Linked DNA regions of Homo sapiens: region 2 is linked to region 1. The links are contacts of gene promoters, found by promoter capture Hi-C in human tissues and cell types (Jung and others, 2019). All regions are on one chromosome and are shown on one strand. The core of a region is centred on a gene start or on the middle of the fragment in contact, and the rest is flanking DNA. Distances in the headings are between cores, read along the strand shown. Region 1 holds the start of PITPNB (phosphatidylinositol transfer protein beta). Region 2 overlaps KREMEN1 (kringle containing transmembrane protein 1).

Region 1 (7,024 bases), core at 1-2,500:
ATTTTTTTGGAGGCAGCCCTAACTCCACAGATGTATTCCACTATCAGATACACCAGATGTTTATACAAAAATGTTTTCGTGATATTTTAATCGTCTTAATAGCCTTTCAACAGGTTCTCATGGTTCTTAGAAGACAAATTCTTTACTATGGCCTAGTAATCCAGTTGGTCCCAGCTCATTTCCCACCCTCACTTAGGATGTTCTGGCCACATCTGCCCTCTAGCTGATCCTTGAACACCCTAGGCTTACTCCATCCTCGGGTCATATTTCCCTCCAACTGGAATGCCCCTCTCACATCCTAACAGGCTAGGCTCAAACACCGCCTCCTAAGACAGCCCTTGTCTTGAGTCCTCTGCTTCTCCCAGTACTCCACTGTATTCATAGCATAGCACTTCCCCACCACCCCAAATTCTCCCTGCTTTCTTTCCAAGTGAGTTGTCTCCTCTAGACTGTGAGCTTCTTGAGAACAGGGACTGTGTCTGCTTCTAGATGCATCCCCACTGCCTAGAACCGTGTCTGACACAGAGCAAGCCAGCGACCTCCGGGCTGCGGCTTTGAGGCCCACGGCGCTTTCGGTGTAACTGCGCGAACCAACTCCTGAACAGCCCGCTTTCCTGGGTCTCGAGGCCAAGGGCCTCTTTTCTCCCAGAGGGCCTCCGTCGGGAGTGCTGGCCGCTCATCCTGCCGAGTCACAGGTGAGGTTTAGGATTCTCCGCCGCGGTGGACCTCCACGAGACCGCGAAGCAGGTGAACGTCCTCCCGCGGAACCTGAGCTGCCAAGGGCTGGGGAGGGGAACAGAAGCTGGCGTCGGCTGCCTCCAGAACCTGTCAGGAGTCTTTTATGTGGACTATGGAGGTGAGGTGTCGGTCAAGGAGGTGGGCCCTGACTCGGAGCAGTGAGAGAGAGCAGAAAACCAGTCACCGCAAAACGGCTTCCAAAGAACCAACTGGAAAACTCACCGGAAAGCGTAGGCTGCCCAGACGCCCCGAGGGACCAAAGCTGAAGGGAGGAGCCCTCGTAAGCAGACAAGAGTGCGCGCGTCGAGCTTGCGCAGCCGCAGTAGAAGCCGCACGCTCTTCGGCAGGCTGCGCAACCGCAGTGGAGGCCTCGTGTGCCCGGGGTGGGGCACGAAACTGGGCGGAGCTAGGCCCCCTCGCGCGCTGACGCGACTGGTCGCGGCGGAAGGGTGTAAGCACGCAGGCGCGATGGTGGCTCGGGGGGGCAGGGAGGCGGGGCCGCGCAGGCGCTGTGAGAGGCGGTAGCGGCGGCGGCGGCGGTGGTATCGGCGGCAGCTGTGAGGGGGTTCCGGGAAGATGGTGCTGATCAAGGAATTGTGAGTGGGTCTGTGGGCGCGAGCGAGGCCGTGGGACGGCAGTGATGGGAGATTTGTTGATGGAGAAGTGGTAGGATATTCCTAAATCGGAGTCAGCCCTGTGTCAGCCCCTCCCTGCGGGCGCCCCCTCCCTCCCCCGGCCCCTTCGAAGCCCCTCAGCGAGTGCGCCCCTCGGCCCTCCAGGCATTGCCGTGGTAACACGCCCTCTCCCTTCCCCGGGGCGAAGGCGGCTGGGTCCCGGCCCGAGCGCATGGCTCGGGAAGGCGCGGCCGGGAGTTTCCGCTGGGACCCGCCTTCTCCCCAACCCCCCACCCCCAGGCTGGGTCTGGGCCCACCCCCAGGCCCGCCGGTGGGAAGGAGCCGCAGTCCGAGGGTGGGAGAGACACGTTGGTTCTGACTGTGATTTGTCGTCCGGGGTGGAGTCCCCTGGTAACCAGCGGGAGATGGGCTTGCCGGTTGAAGGCAGCCCTCGTGTCAGGACTCGCGGTGGGACGCTGGCGCCTTGAAGTTCGTGGTGGAGCCGGGATTCCGGAAAGCCTCCGCTCTCCTGGGCAGCTCCGCTGACTTGACGGGAGAGCCTTTTCTCTTTTTGGTTTCCGCATGTTTTAAGATGAGGTGACATCCCGGGCCCCACCTACTTTCTTAGAAGTTAACACGTGCTCTGTCAAATGGAGGGATTTCGAGGTGCATCCGACTGGCCAAGTGATTTTGTTGAAAAGTCACGGCTTTTCCTACTGGCAAGGACTGTAAACATTACGGAAATCTGCTTGCCTCTGAATGTTCGTCTGTCACAGCTGGTTCGTGTCGTCAGCATCCTTTGGGCAGCTAGGGAGGTCGAGTATGGCCCATTCGTTGGTTTTCAAATTCTTCATTTTAAATTCTTAGAAATATTTTTGGCTTAATTTAGCTTTTTTCAGACACCTTATTTTTAGTGTTCTTAAACCTCCTTTAAAAAGTCACTGATGCACTTCTCTGAGACTTAATACCTCCCAAAGACTCCCTGTCTCACCCAGAATAAAAGTCAAAGCCTCTGCAACAGCTACAAGGCTTTACACTTTTTTTTCCTGCCCTGATCTCATTTACTACCTTTTCCTTGCCCATTCCATCTTCGCAAGCTTCCTTGCTGTTCCTCTGCTACTCTAGAATAAGTTCAGTTCAAGACCTTTCCACCTGCTTTTGTTCCCTTTGCTTGAAGTGTTCTTCCCTTGGCACACTAACTCACCTTCTTCCAGGTCTTTGCTCAGACGTCACCTTCTCAGGGAATCCCTTTCTGAAGACCTAATTGTAGTTCCCACTATTTGGGGTGGTATTTGTCTTCCCTGCTTTATCGGTCTCCATAGTACTTATCACCATCCAACATGCCAATACAATTTATTATTATTATTTTTCTCCTACTAGTTGTGTTCTCTTTTTACATGTAAGGGCCATGAGTTTGTTTTGCTCACTCTCATATCCCCAGTTTTTAGAATAGTCCCTCGCATGTAATAGGTGCTCAGTAAATATTTGTTAATGAATTGATGAAAAATGATAACTTTGGTCAGTGACAGGGATTTTGAGAAGAGACATTTTGCCTTTTTTTGGTAGAGTGAAAATTCTCAATTAAAGCTTATTTATAGTACTGAATATTGGGTTTATATAAAACTTTTCTTCCAAGTCGTTTATACAGTGTATCAAACAAGTGTTCATTACTCTGACTTCTAGATGATGTGGGTAGATGGGTGGCAGACACTAAAACAAATGGAGAAAATAAGAAGGAAATTGACTTGGACCAAGTTACACAGCAAGTGAGTTGCAGAACTGATTTTAAATAGATCCAGTCATTTTTCTTTCATTGGAGTATTTCCTCCCTCCAAAAGTGTTACAGACACACAGTATTCAGTAGATCCCTTTGACAGTATGTGAGTAGTATGAAGCTAACTCTTGGAAAGCAGTTCCTATTGGGAATTTGCGCACTGTGCTTTTTGCAAACATTTGCTTTCATTATGAAGATTTAAATGTACCCAGATAATGAATGTTGACACGTGCCCAAAGTCTAATTATTTTTCCCAAAGAGTTATAAATTAAGTTTCTTGATGTTAACTCTTCATGTGTATCTCCCCTAGATTTTTTTTCCTCCTAGACTTTTTGAAGGTAGAAGCTGTTTCTTAAGTAATGTCGGTATCTAGCACAGCATCTAGGCCTAACATGCTCTAAAGAATTCAGTGTTGTTCAATGAAAAATTGATACTTCTTACTCTCAAGTCAACTTTCTAAAATTCTTGTTGGTTAGGAGCAATGAATAGCTTATTCCTATGTGAAGATATTGGTAACTAAAATACTTTGGCAAATGTTTGTTGTCTTATAAAATTCTTTTTTATTTTTATGTTTTTTTTTTGAGGCGGAGTCTCTGTTGCCCAGGCTGGAGTGCAGTGGCATGATCTCTGCTCACTGCAACCTCCGCCTCCCAGGTTCAAGCGATTTTCCTGCCTCAGCCTCCCAAGTAGCTGGGACTACAGGCGCACGCCACCATGACCGGCTAAATTTTTTGTATTTTTAGTAGAGACAGGGTTTCACCCTGCTGGCCAGGCTGGTCTGGAACTCATGACCTCAGGTGATCCGCCCACTAAGTGCTGGGATTACAGGTGTGAGTCACCGCACCTGGCCCTCTATTTATTTTTTTATAAGAATTAAAATGTTAGAAATGACTTTCGAGGTGGGCTGTTTCCCTTCAAGTTATTATTTAAGCAGTAGATGAAGTTACCATTAATGTAAAGTCCTGGTTTTAAAGAACTAGTTACTGATTCCATTTGGAAATTATTTTTATGAGGATTTTCAGACATTTGAACATTTTCAACTGGCACTGAAAGTTGAATACTGCTTTTAGAATAACAACAGAAAATCAAAGCCTGTATGTTCCTTTTCCCTTTTACTTGTTAAGCAAATCTTGAAGAAGTTACTTGACTCATTGTTCTGAATGTCTTAATCAGTCACTTTAATTTTTTGAAAGAATTTCCTTGAAAGTGTTCTTAAATAAAAATAGGGATCTTCCTGTTAGTGAGTGTAAAATTACTCAGCAGTGATTCTTTGGTTTTGTGAAACTTAAGGGAAGACTAACTCTTCTTTCTCTATCCCTTCCTTCCATTCCCTCTGCAGTCCATCATCTTGGTTCAGGCCTTTGTGACAGTTCTTGCCTAGCCTCCCAAAAGATAGCTTTCCCCACTTCTCCTGCTTGTCAGTGTTTTCAACCACCTGCAGATGACTTCTTCAGGTCAGCAGTAGTTGTCACTTACCTCTTGGACCAACCTTTTGGGATTCCTTATTGCCTGATGAATTTAATGGATTTCTTACCATAGTATTCCAGGTCCTGATAATCTGCTCCCAACCTATAGCTTTCTAGTCTTCCTCTCCCTCATTTTATGCTCTGGGACAGTGAGCAAGTTAGTGTATACTGAGAAGAGAAATGATTCGGAATTTTTAGGTATAGAAGGACTTACAAAAAGTTTATTCTTGATGGAGAGTAGAAATTAGTGACCATTGTGGATTTGAGAGTGTTCATTGTTTTTGAATCACCGTTACCAGAAAGACAAAGAGTGGCGAGTAACTCAGTAGTCAAAGGGGAGGGAGTAACAGACTTGTGCATGTTGGAGATTGAGGTAATGTGAACATTCAGACATAGATGTTTGAGGAGAGTAGGGAGAAAGGAGTAGATGGAAAGTGTAGCTGGAATGCAAACTAGATATAATCTGGGTTTTATTACTCTCTTCATACTTACGAATAAGAAAGACTATTAAAAAAGAATGCCTAGGCCAAAAAGATTGTCACTAATACAAACAATAAGCTAAATGACTCTTACTGCAAGAAAAAAAGAAAAAGAAATTATAAGCTGAAAAGAAATTGGAATGAGGAAAACTATTGAAAATTTTCCATAAAATGACAGATAAGATTAGGAAAGTATGAGAAGGATCGTATACCCCCATCCCACAAAAAAGGAAGTTGCTGTCTTGGAACCAACTATAATTATGAGACCATTGATATACAGGGATGTTCTTGGTTTTCAGGATTTATGGTGGAAATAAATTAAGGACTCTCCTTATAAAATCTAGAGATAAGATGCAATATTTTGATAAAACAATATACCATGATACTGTTTTGGATTTTATCTTTTAAGACTGCTTGCAATGGAGCTATAATGACATCTTTTTGGTATATACAATAAGAAACTCTTGGACAGGATGAAACACATGTCAACCTTATATTGTATATATGCTGGAAGGGATTATTATAAGGTTCAAGTAGTTTCCATAGTAAAATTTTTCTTACTAATTCTACACGACTCCTTATTTTTCTCTTAGTAAACTTGAGGAATAATTGAATAGTGGGGGAACAGTTTCTGGAAGCGTTTATTCAATGAGATTCAAGACACGTATTCTGTAAGAAGCATCATAAAAACAAAATGCACAGTATATAGGTGGAGAATGAAACCATACTAAAAATTTAGTCAGGGCAACCTGACCAGACAATCTGCAAATAATACGTTCTGTACCCTGCAATTTTCAATGTTGAGTTTTCTCTTTTTTCTTTACTCACAAGAATCTCTGCAGCTGCTGTTTGGGGTCCTGGGAACACTAAATGCAAATGATCATTGAGACCCAGGAATGATAGTTTTAGTTCCCCAATTATGGTGTAGGCATTGCAAAGACCCTCTTCCATAAATGACACCCTTGTATTTTTTTGATTTAAGAGACCTGTCTCTGTTATCATTGGATTTAAGGTAAAACCTCTTCAGAGATCTGTGTTTAAAGCTATTTCATATGTAATATATATATTTTTTCTTTTGTCTTTTTAGCCGTGTGGTTTTGCCATGTTCTGTTCAGGAGGTGAGTTTTTCTTGCTTCTGCATCATTTTATTGGTATATGTACTGTACTTTGATATGTTACTCTAAACTCACATTTTCGTAGTATTGATTTACCTTTTCATTCCACCTTATGTGACAAAATTAATTATATGAATGATAATTGCAAAGAATTGCAAAATGAATTAAATGAATGATAATGAATTTCTTGCTACACTGCCTTGTTTTGGAAGAGTCTAAAGAATGTAGTTTAACCTCCTGTCTAGTGCAGGAATTCTTTCTCCAACATCCCAGAGAAATGAGGCTCCAGCCTCAACTTAAGTACTTTAAGGTTAAGTAGCTTGCTGCTTAGAGAAGCAGCCTACTTTACTGTTGGACATTTTAAACATTTGTGTTTGAACCAAAATCTGCTTTTCCTATAATGCTTGACTCTTGTTTACAGTTTATCCCATTTGAGCAATGGGAAATAAGCCTGTTCTGTCTTGTAGTGGTTAATCCTTCAGGTTTTCTGATGGCAGCTCTCCCCTCCAGCCAACCCCATCCCCCACAAGCACTTTTATTTCATCTTAGAAAGTCTCAAGGTTAAACATTCCCAGCACATTCACTTGGCTTAATACAGCATGATATGTGGACTTGCTACCAGCTGGTCCTGTTACTATATGTGTTGTAATTGTTGATCTGAACTGAAAACAGTATTCCAGACATGGTATGAACAGCACACAACTGTAAGAGCTTATTGTTTTCCTCAGTCTGGACATGATACAGAAATATATCACCTATTCAGAACTTGCATGTCCTGCAGTTATAGCCATGTGTATTGTAGACAAGAATGAAGATAAGAGCAGAAACAGCTTCTGAG
Region 2 (7,024 bases), core at 2,193-4,692, 1.2 Mb before region 1:
TTCCTTGACGGCTGGAAGAGAAAAAGCAATTAACTGGGGACAGGGCTATGGAGACAACAAAGAGTTGTGCGGGAGGAGAGCACGAGTTATGAAGAAGAGTTCTTCTCTGATTCAATTCTGGGTGCAATTCCTTCCATAGGTGGGTCCCACCAGCCCCAAAACAGAACCTGTCAGGCTGTCACCCTTTAGAAGGCAGAAGGATGAACCTGTCAACTTCACAGAATGTGGCTAGTCTCATCTCAGACACCTGGGCATGGTTTACAGCTTCTCTGCCCCTGTACTTGGCAGCTATGGCTCCCTATGCCTGGAAGGTTCGCTTTTTTCCTATTGATCCAAATGCTACCTGTTCCTCAAGACTGTCCCACCTGGAGAGAGGGCCTCTTCCCATGGGTCTCCTGGAGCACACACTACCTGAACTCTTCTTGAGGTTTGCTATCCAGGACAAAGACAATGTCTCAAACACCTTCTGTGTTTCTTGTGTCCTGGCAAAGAGATGTGCCCGGCACACATGTGCTCACATTACAGAGGCAGAGAGTGTGGCTCCATCATAGCAGGGTTTGAAGATGGCAAGCCAGTCTTTTGGAATTAGCTAGGATGTTTAGAGGAAGGAGGACGGACCAGATGACCTTTTGATAACCTTCCAACTGTCCCAGTCTCAGCTGTTCCTTTTAGTTATTCTGTTTTTTTAAATTCTTTTAACCCTCCCATGAAAACTGTCATTAGACCTACTAAAATAGCCAAATTGACAGGTTTTCACCTCTTTTCTGTCTCATGAAACATAAATGAGTTATGAAATGGGGGTAGGGAAGGAGCCACAGCCTCGGGGTGATCTGCAAGTTGAGTCAGTAGTTCCTGAGGCCCAATCTGCCCCGCAAGAACTGCCCAAGTCACAAGGGTGAAGAAGAGAAGCCCAAGGCACGTGGGCCCTGAAGAACCCCCAAGGAGGCAAAGATGTCTTACCTTGGTATAAAACAGCAAATCCCTGGGCCTGATTGATGCGATCAGAGAAGAAATACAAGATGACGAAGTCCAGAGAGACGTTGAAGGACAGAGGTGGGCGGCTCCTCCCGTGGAAGCGGGCTAGGACACGGTGGGTGTAGCCATCCAGAAGCTCCACCATGTCCGCCGAGTCCCTGATGTCAAATAGGGGGAAGCTGAAGTGGATGTGGGAGGCCCCCGGAACCCGGATGGTCCAGTAGCAGACCCTCCCCGTGGCATAGGTGTCGGGGAAGTCAGGGGAATAGACCACAGAAGACATGGCTGAGTAGTTCCCACCGCAGGCGCCCACGAGAGCTGTAGGAGAGAAAAAGACACCACGCCCTCAGTCTGGGCCTTTGCCACAGGCGCGCTTCCAACACCAAGGCACTAAAGCCTTCCTAACGAGCAGGATCCCATTTAGGACATTGTTTCTATCTGTAAAACCTGACAGTCACAAAACGAATCGCTGAGACTCTCGAAAAATGACTGTGGAGATGTTTTTCCCCCCAGAGACCTTAGAATTAGCACACAGCACAGTGGTGTGGCCTAGGTTGGGGCAGGGCTGGAGTCAGAGAGTCTGGACTTGGGACTGGCAGGGCCAAGTGATGGCAGGGGCCGCACTTCACTCGCGGGCCTCTTGCTTCTCTCAGTTTCAAGGCTGGAGAGAGCACCATCTGCTCCTGTATCACGGGAATGTGTGATGGCACATGAGACAAAGCACACGAACCACTCAGGCCACTCTGCAGGGAAGCCACCCGATGAGGTAAAGCTGTCAAAAGAGAAGGGCTTTACAGCTGCTTGTGTGTCCCCAGTACCCATGCAACGCTCCCATGAGGGACCACGTTTTCAAGCAGGGAAACTGCAGCACAAGAAATGACTTTCTGCAGTGAGGAAACATGCTAGATTCTGAGCACTCTGTACTGGGCACATTTGCTTTCTCTGGACTCCTGTTTTTGATAGGCATGTTCTAGAAAGGGGATGCAGTGATTTCCTGTCTTACATGGTGAAATGTAAACAAGATCTTAGAACTGAAACTCCTTGGGAGGGAATGTAGGGCTAGGATTCTATTTTTTTTTTTTTTTGAGAAGGAGTCTCCGTCTGTCTCCCAGGCTGGAGTGCAGTGGTGTGATCTCGGCTCACTGCAACCTCCTTCTCCTGGGTTCACACCAATTCTCCTGTCTCAGCCTTCCGAGTAGCTGGGACTACAGGTGTCCACCACCAGGCTGGCTAACTTTTTTTGTATTTTTAGTAGAGATGGGGTTTCACCGTGTTAGCCAGGATGGTCTCGATCTCCTGACCTCGTGATCCACCCGTCCCGGCCTCCCAAAGTGCTGGGATTATAGGCATGTGCCACCGCACCCGGCCAGGGCTAGGATTTAAAAAGCAGGCTTTGGGGGAGTTCTGGTTCCCTTTAGGATGTAGAAAACAACAAGCAGTCCGGGCGCGGTGGCTCACGCCTGTAATCCCAGCACTTTGGGAGGCCAAGGCAGGTGGATCACCTGAGGTCAAGAGTTAAAGACCAGCCTGATCAATATGGTGAAACCCCGTCTCTACTAAAAATACAAAAATTAGCTGGGCGTGGTGGCGTGTGACTATAGTCCCAGCTACTAGGGAGGCTGAGACGGGAGAATTTCTTGAACCCGGGAGCTGGAGGTTGCAGTGAGCCGAGATCACGCTACTGCACTCCAGCCTGGGCAACAGAGTGAGGCTCTGTCTCAAAACAACAACAACAAGTGAATGCTGCTTCTATCCTAACAATGAGAAAAAGCTTAAAACTCAGCTGAGGTCTCATGACAACCAGGGGAACTTAATTCTACAAAATCAAAGCCCCATCAAGGAGAGTCAGGCCACACAAACAGTTTCATCTTTGAGAGAACACAGGAGGAAGAGGTGACCGCCAGAGAAGTAACAAGAAAGCACTAAAATTTTAACAAACTCTTAAAGGCTGAGAGTGGGCTAGTGTCTCAGCTTAGGGCAACTGGGAGTCCCAGACACAACGGGCATTTTGCACTCACTTGTGAGCTTTTCTGCACAGACCTCCACTCAGTGCTTTCACAAGTGACTCGGGTTGGCCAGCAGACCACAGTCCCCCTGAGTGGCATGAGTGTGCAGGAGGTGACAGGCTGCCACTGGCGGACAGGAATGGAATACTGCCCACTTCCTTCTCTTCACACTTGCAGGAAGGGACTCTCCTCTCTAAGAAAGTAAAAGCCTTCGGCAGCTGGGAGAGGGGAAGCAAATCCTGTTACTCCCAGGGCCACTGAAAACAGACAGAAGCAAAATCTGTTTGCCTCTGGGGGAGGGAGTAGACCTGATTTGACTAGAAAAGTCTATACCAAACACCATTTCACAAACCCAAATTTCAGCCTCCTTGAAATTCCCCTTCCTATCAAAGTAACCAGGTGAAGATTCACTGCTTCTAGGGGAAGAACAGAAGCAAAAGCCATTGGTCCCTGATTGCCTTGAGCCCTCTTGAGTCCAGGATACTGCAGCCGATGCAAAGCAGAGCTCTACTACTCCTGGAGGGAGGGCAAGAAATTCTCCTTCCCAAGATCCACCACAGACGCAAGGCAGTGTTTGGCTGCCAGGGAGAGAAGAAGGGTGTGGGAATGCTGAAAAGACCTCAGGCTGGTGGCCTTTACACATCCTGTCTAAGACTGAGGACAGGGCAGGAGAACCAAGAACCACCTCCATGACCTCACCATGAGTACAGCCAGGTAACAAACAGCCATAGCCTACCACTGAGGGAGGGAAAGAGGGTGGAGAAGGAGCCCCTCTGTGGCACAGGCATGTGGGAACTCCTCAAAGCTGAGGATGGAACAGGGCTACTGAGGAAAACTCACGGGTACTCTAGGCTCCACACTAAGCACAAGCTGATAGCAGCCCGTCACTGGAGGAATTTAAAGCCTGATGTGCATTGAGGGTAGTGATAGAAACAACCTAGCTCAACTTCTGATAGACTGGCTCAGTCCCTACACTATGCAGATCTGCCCAGGTGTAAACACTATCTCAGCCCCTAGTGTTCTTCTATACATAGCATATGGCATTCAATAAAAAATTACAACACACATATAAAAGCAAGGGTGGGAGGGGGGAAAGACATTGTTAAAACAATCTACAGAACTAGACTCAATGATGACCCAGATGCTAGAACGATCAGACAGAGACTACATGATGAATACGGTAAATAATCTACTGGAGGCAAGGCATGGTGGCTCATGCCTGTAATCCCAACACTTTGAGGGGCCACGGGAGGAGGATCTCTCAAGGCTAGGAGTTCAAAACCAGCCTGAGGAACACAGTGAGACCCCATCTCTACAAAAATTTTAAAATTAGCCAGGCATGGTGGTGTGTGCCTGCAGTCCCAGCTACTCAGGGTTCTGACGCAGGAGGATCACTTGAGCCCAGCAGGTCAAGGCTGCAGAGAGCTATGATTGCACCATTGCACTCCAGCCTAGGTGGCAGAGTGAGACCTTGTCTCTTAAAAAAAAAAAAAATCTACTGGAAATCAAACAATATTGGAGATGAATTTTTTTTTAATTATAGAATGCTTCATGAATTCGCATGTCATCCTTGCACAGGGGCCATGCTAATATACTCTGTTTTGTTCCAATTTTAGTATATGTGCTGCTGAAGCAAGCACTGAAGAATTCCTTTGATGGGCTTATCAGGATACTAGACACAGCTGAGGAAAGAATCAATAAACATGAAGACAGGTCAATAGAAATTATCCCCAAATGAAACAAAGGGGAAAACAAAGTGAAACAAAGAGAACAGAGCTCCCAACAGCTGTAGGACAATATCAAATAGTCTAACATACGTGTAATTGCAGTGCCAAAAGAAGAAAAAAAGAATGGAACAGAAGAAATGTTTGAAGAGATAATGGTGAAAAATGTTCCAAAATCAGTAAAAGGTGACAAACTACAGATCCAAGAATTTCAGCAAACCCAAGCAAACAAAAAAATTAAAAACAAAAACAAAAGCAAAAAAAACAAACAAAAAAAAACAGACAAAGAAGACACACCTAGACACATCATAGTTAAATGTTGAAAACCAGTCTGGGCATGGTGGCTCATGCCTGTAATCCCAGCACTTTGGGAGGTTAAGGCAGGAGGACTGCTTGAGCCCAGGAGTTCAAGATCAGTCTGGGTAACATAGTGAGACCCTATCTCTATACAAAATTAAAAACTTAGCTGGGTATGGTGGCACATGCCCATAATCCCAGCTACTCAGGAGGCTAAGGCAGGAGGATTGCTTGAGCCCAGGGGGGTCGAGGCTGCAGTGGGCCATGACTGCACTACTGCACTCTAGCCTGGGTGACAGAGTAAGACCCTGTCTCAAAAAAAAAAAAAAGTTGAAAACCAAAACCAAAGATAAAATCTTTTTTCTTTTTTCTTTTTTTTTTTTTTGAGATGGAGTCTCGCTCTGTTGCCCAGGCTGGAGTGCAATGACGCGATCTCTGCTCACTGCAAGCTTCACCTCCTGGGTTCACGCCATTCTCCTGCCTCAGCCTCCCAAGTAGCTGGGACTACAGGCATGCGCCACCTCGCCTGGCTAATTTTTTGTATTTTTAGTAGAGACGGGGTTTCACCGTGTTCGCCAGGATGGTCTCGATCTCCTGACCTCGTGATCCACCCGCCTCGGCCTCCCAAAGTGCTGGGATTACAGGCATGAGCCACCACATCCGGCCTCAAAACCAAAGATAAAATCTTGAAGGCAGGCAAGGAAGAGGAAAAGATTACATACAGGGGAATAAAGATAGAGCAGACATCTCTAAAAACCATACAAGTCACAAGAATATGGACCAATATCTTTGAAGTACTGAAAGAAAAAAGCTGTCAGCACAGAAATCAATACCCAGCAAAAATTACTCAAAAAAATGCAGGTGAAATAAAGCTTTTTCGAACAATAGCTGAAAGAAGCTATTGACAGTCAACCTGTACTAGACAAAATGCTAAAGGAATTTCTTTAGGGGAAAGGAATATACCAGATGGCAAATAAGAATACAAAAAGATGTTCAATATCATTGGTAATTAGAGAAATGCAAATTAAAACCACAATGAGATACTACTACATACCTACTAGAATGGATCACATTTAAAAAACAGATCATACAAAAGTATCTGTAGCTGGAGAGAAAGTGGAGCAAATGAAAATCATACATATTGGTGGTCAGAATGCAAAATGGCACATCCACTTTGGAAAACAGTTGGCAGTGACTTATAATGCTAAATATGCACTTAGCACATGACCCAGCAATCCCACTCCTAGGTAGGTACCCAAGAGAAATGACAACATATGTCCACATAAGCACCTGTACTTGGATGTTTACAACAGCTTTATCATAGACAGACCAATGTTTGTCAATTGGTGAATAGATGAACAGATTGCGATACATCTGTACAAAGGAACGCTTCTTAGCAATAAAAAGGAAAAAAACTACTGATACAGGCAACAACATAGGTGAATCATAAAGCATTATTCTGGCCGGTCGTGGTGGCTCACACCTGTAATCCCAGCACTTTGGGAGGAAAAGGCGGGTGGATCACCTGAGGTCCGGAGTTTGAGACCAGCCTGACCAACCCGGAGAAACCCCATCTCTACTAGAAATACAAAATTAGCCATGTGTGGTGGTGCATGCCTGTAATCCCAGCTACTCCGGAGGCTGAGGCAGGAGAATGGCTTGAACCAGGGAGGCGGAGGTTGCTGTGAGCCAAGATCGCGCCATTGCACTCTAGACTGGGCAACAAGAGTGAAACTCCATCTCAAAAAAAAAAAAAAAAAAAAAAAAGCATTATTCTAAGTGAAAGAAGCCAGAGACAAATGGCTAAATACTGTGATTCCATTTATATAATATTCTGCAAAACACAAAACTATATATATATATACATATATATATACATATATACATATATATACACATATATACATATATATACATATATACATATATATACACATATATACATGTATATATGCATATATATACATGTATATATATACATATATATACACACATATATATACATATATACATATATATACA

Evidence for each region. Contacts are between HindIII fragments. The study calls those that stand out against the background at their distance.
Region 2: a contact is called between a fragment that was not itself captured here and the fragment with the promoter of PITPNB in region 1, in 1 of the 25 tissues and cell types used here (dorsolateral prefrontal cortex).

What each region holds. Positions count from the first base shown.
Region 1 is chr22:27,913,482-27,920,505 of GRCh38, reverse strand. It overlaps PITPNB (phosphatidylinositol transfer protein beta), which reads left to right and starts at 1,250. Exons shown (of 12, transcript NM_012399.5): 1 at 1,250-1,334; 2 at 6,159-6,189. The coding sequence starts at 1,315. TTC28-AS1 (TTC28 antisense RNA 1) reads right to left here and starts at 1,130. Exons shown (of 5, transcript NR_026963.1): 1 at 961-1,130. RefSeq lists enhancers at 730-909, 80-1,064, 1,065-2,050 and silencers at 1,220-1,289, 1,480-1,799. The HindIII fragment of the contact is 4,438 bases long and covers 1-2,694 here.
Region 2 is chr22:29,131,611-29,138,634 of GRCh38, reverse strand. It overlaps KREMEN1 (kringle containing transmembrane protein 1), which reads right to left. Exons shown (of 9, transcript NM_001039570.3): 6 at 961-1,293; 7 at 1-11. It also overlaps the pseudogene RNU6-810P. Among named protein-coding and RNA genes, the nearest start is that of KREMEN1, 62 kb to the right of the region's middle. The HindIII fragment of the contact is 6,321 bases long and covers 282-6,602 here.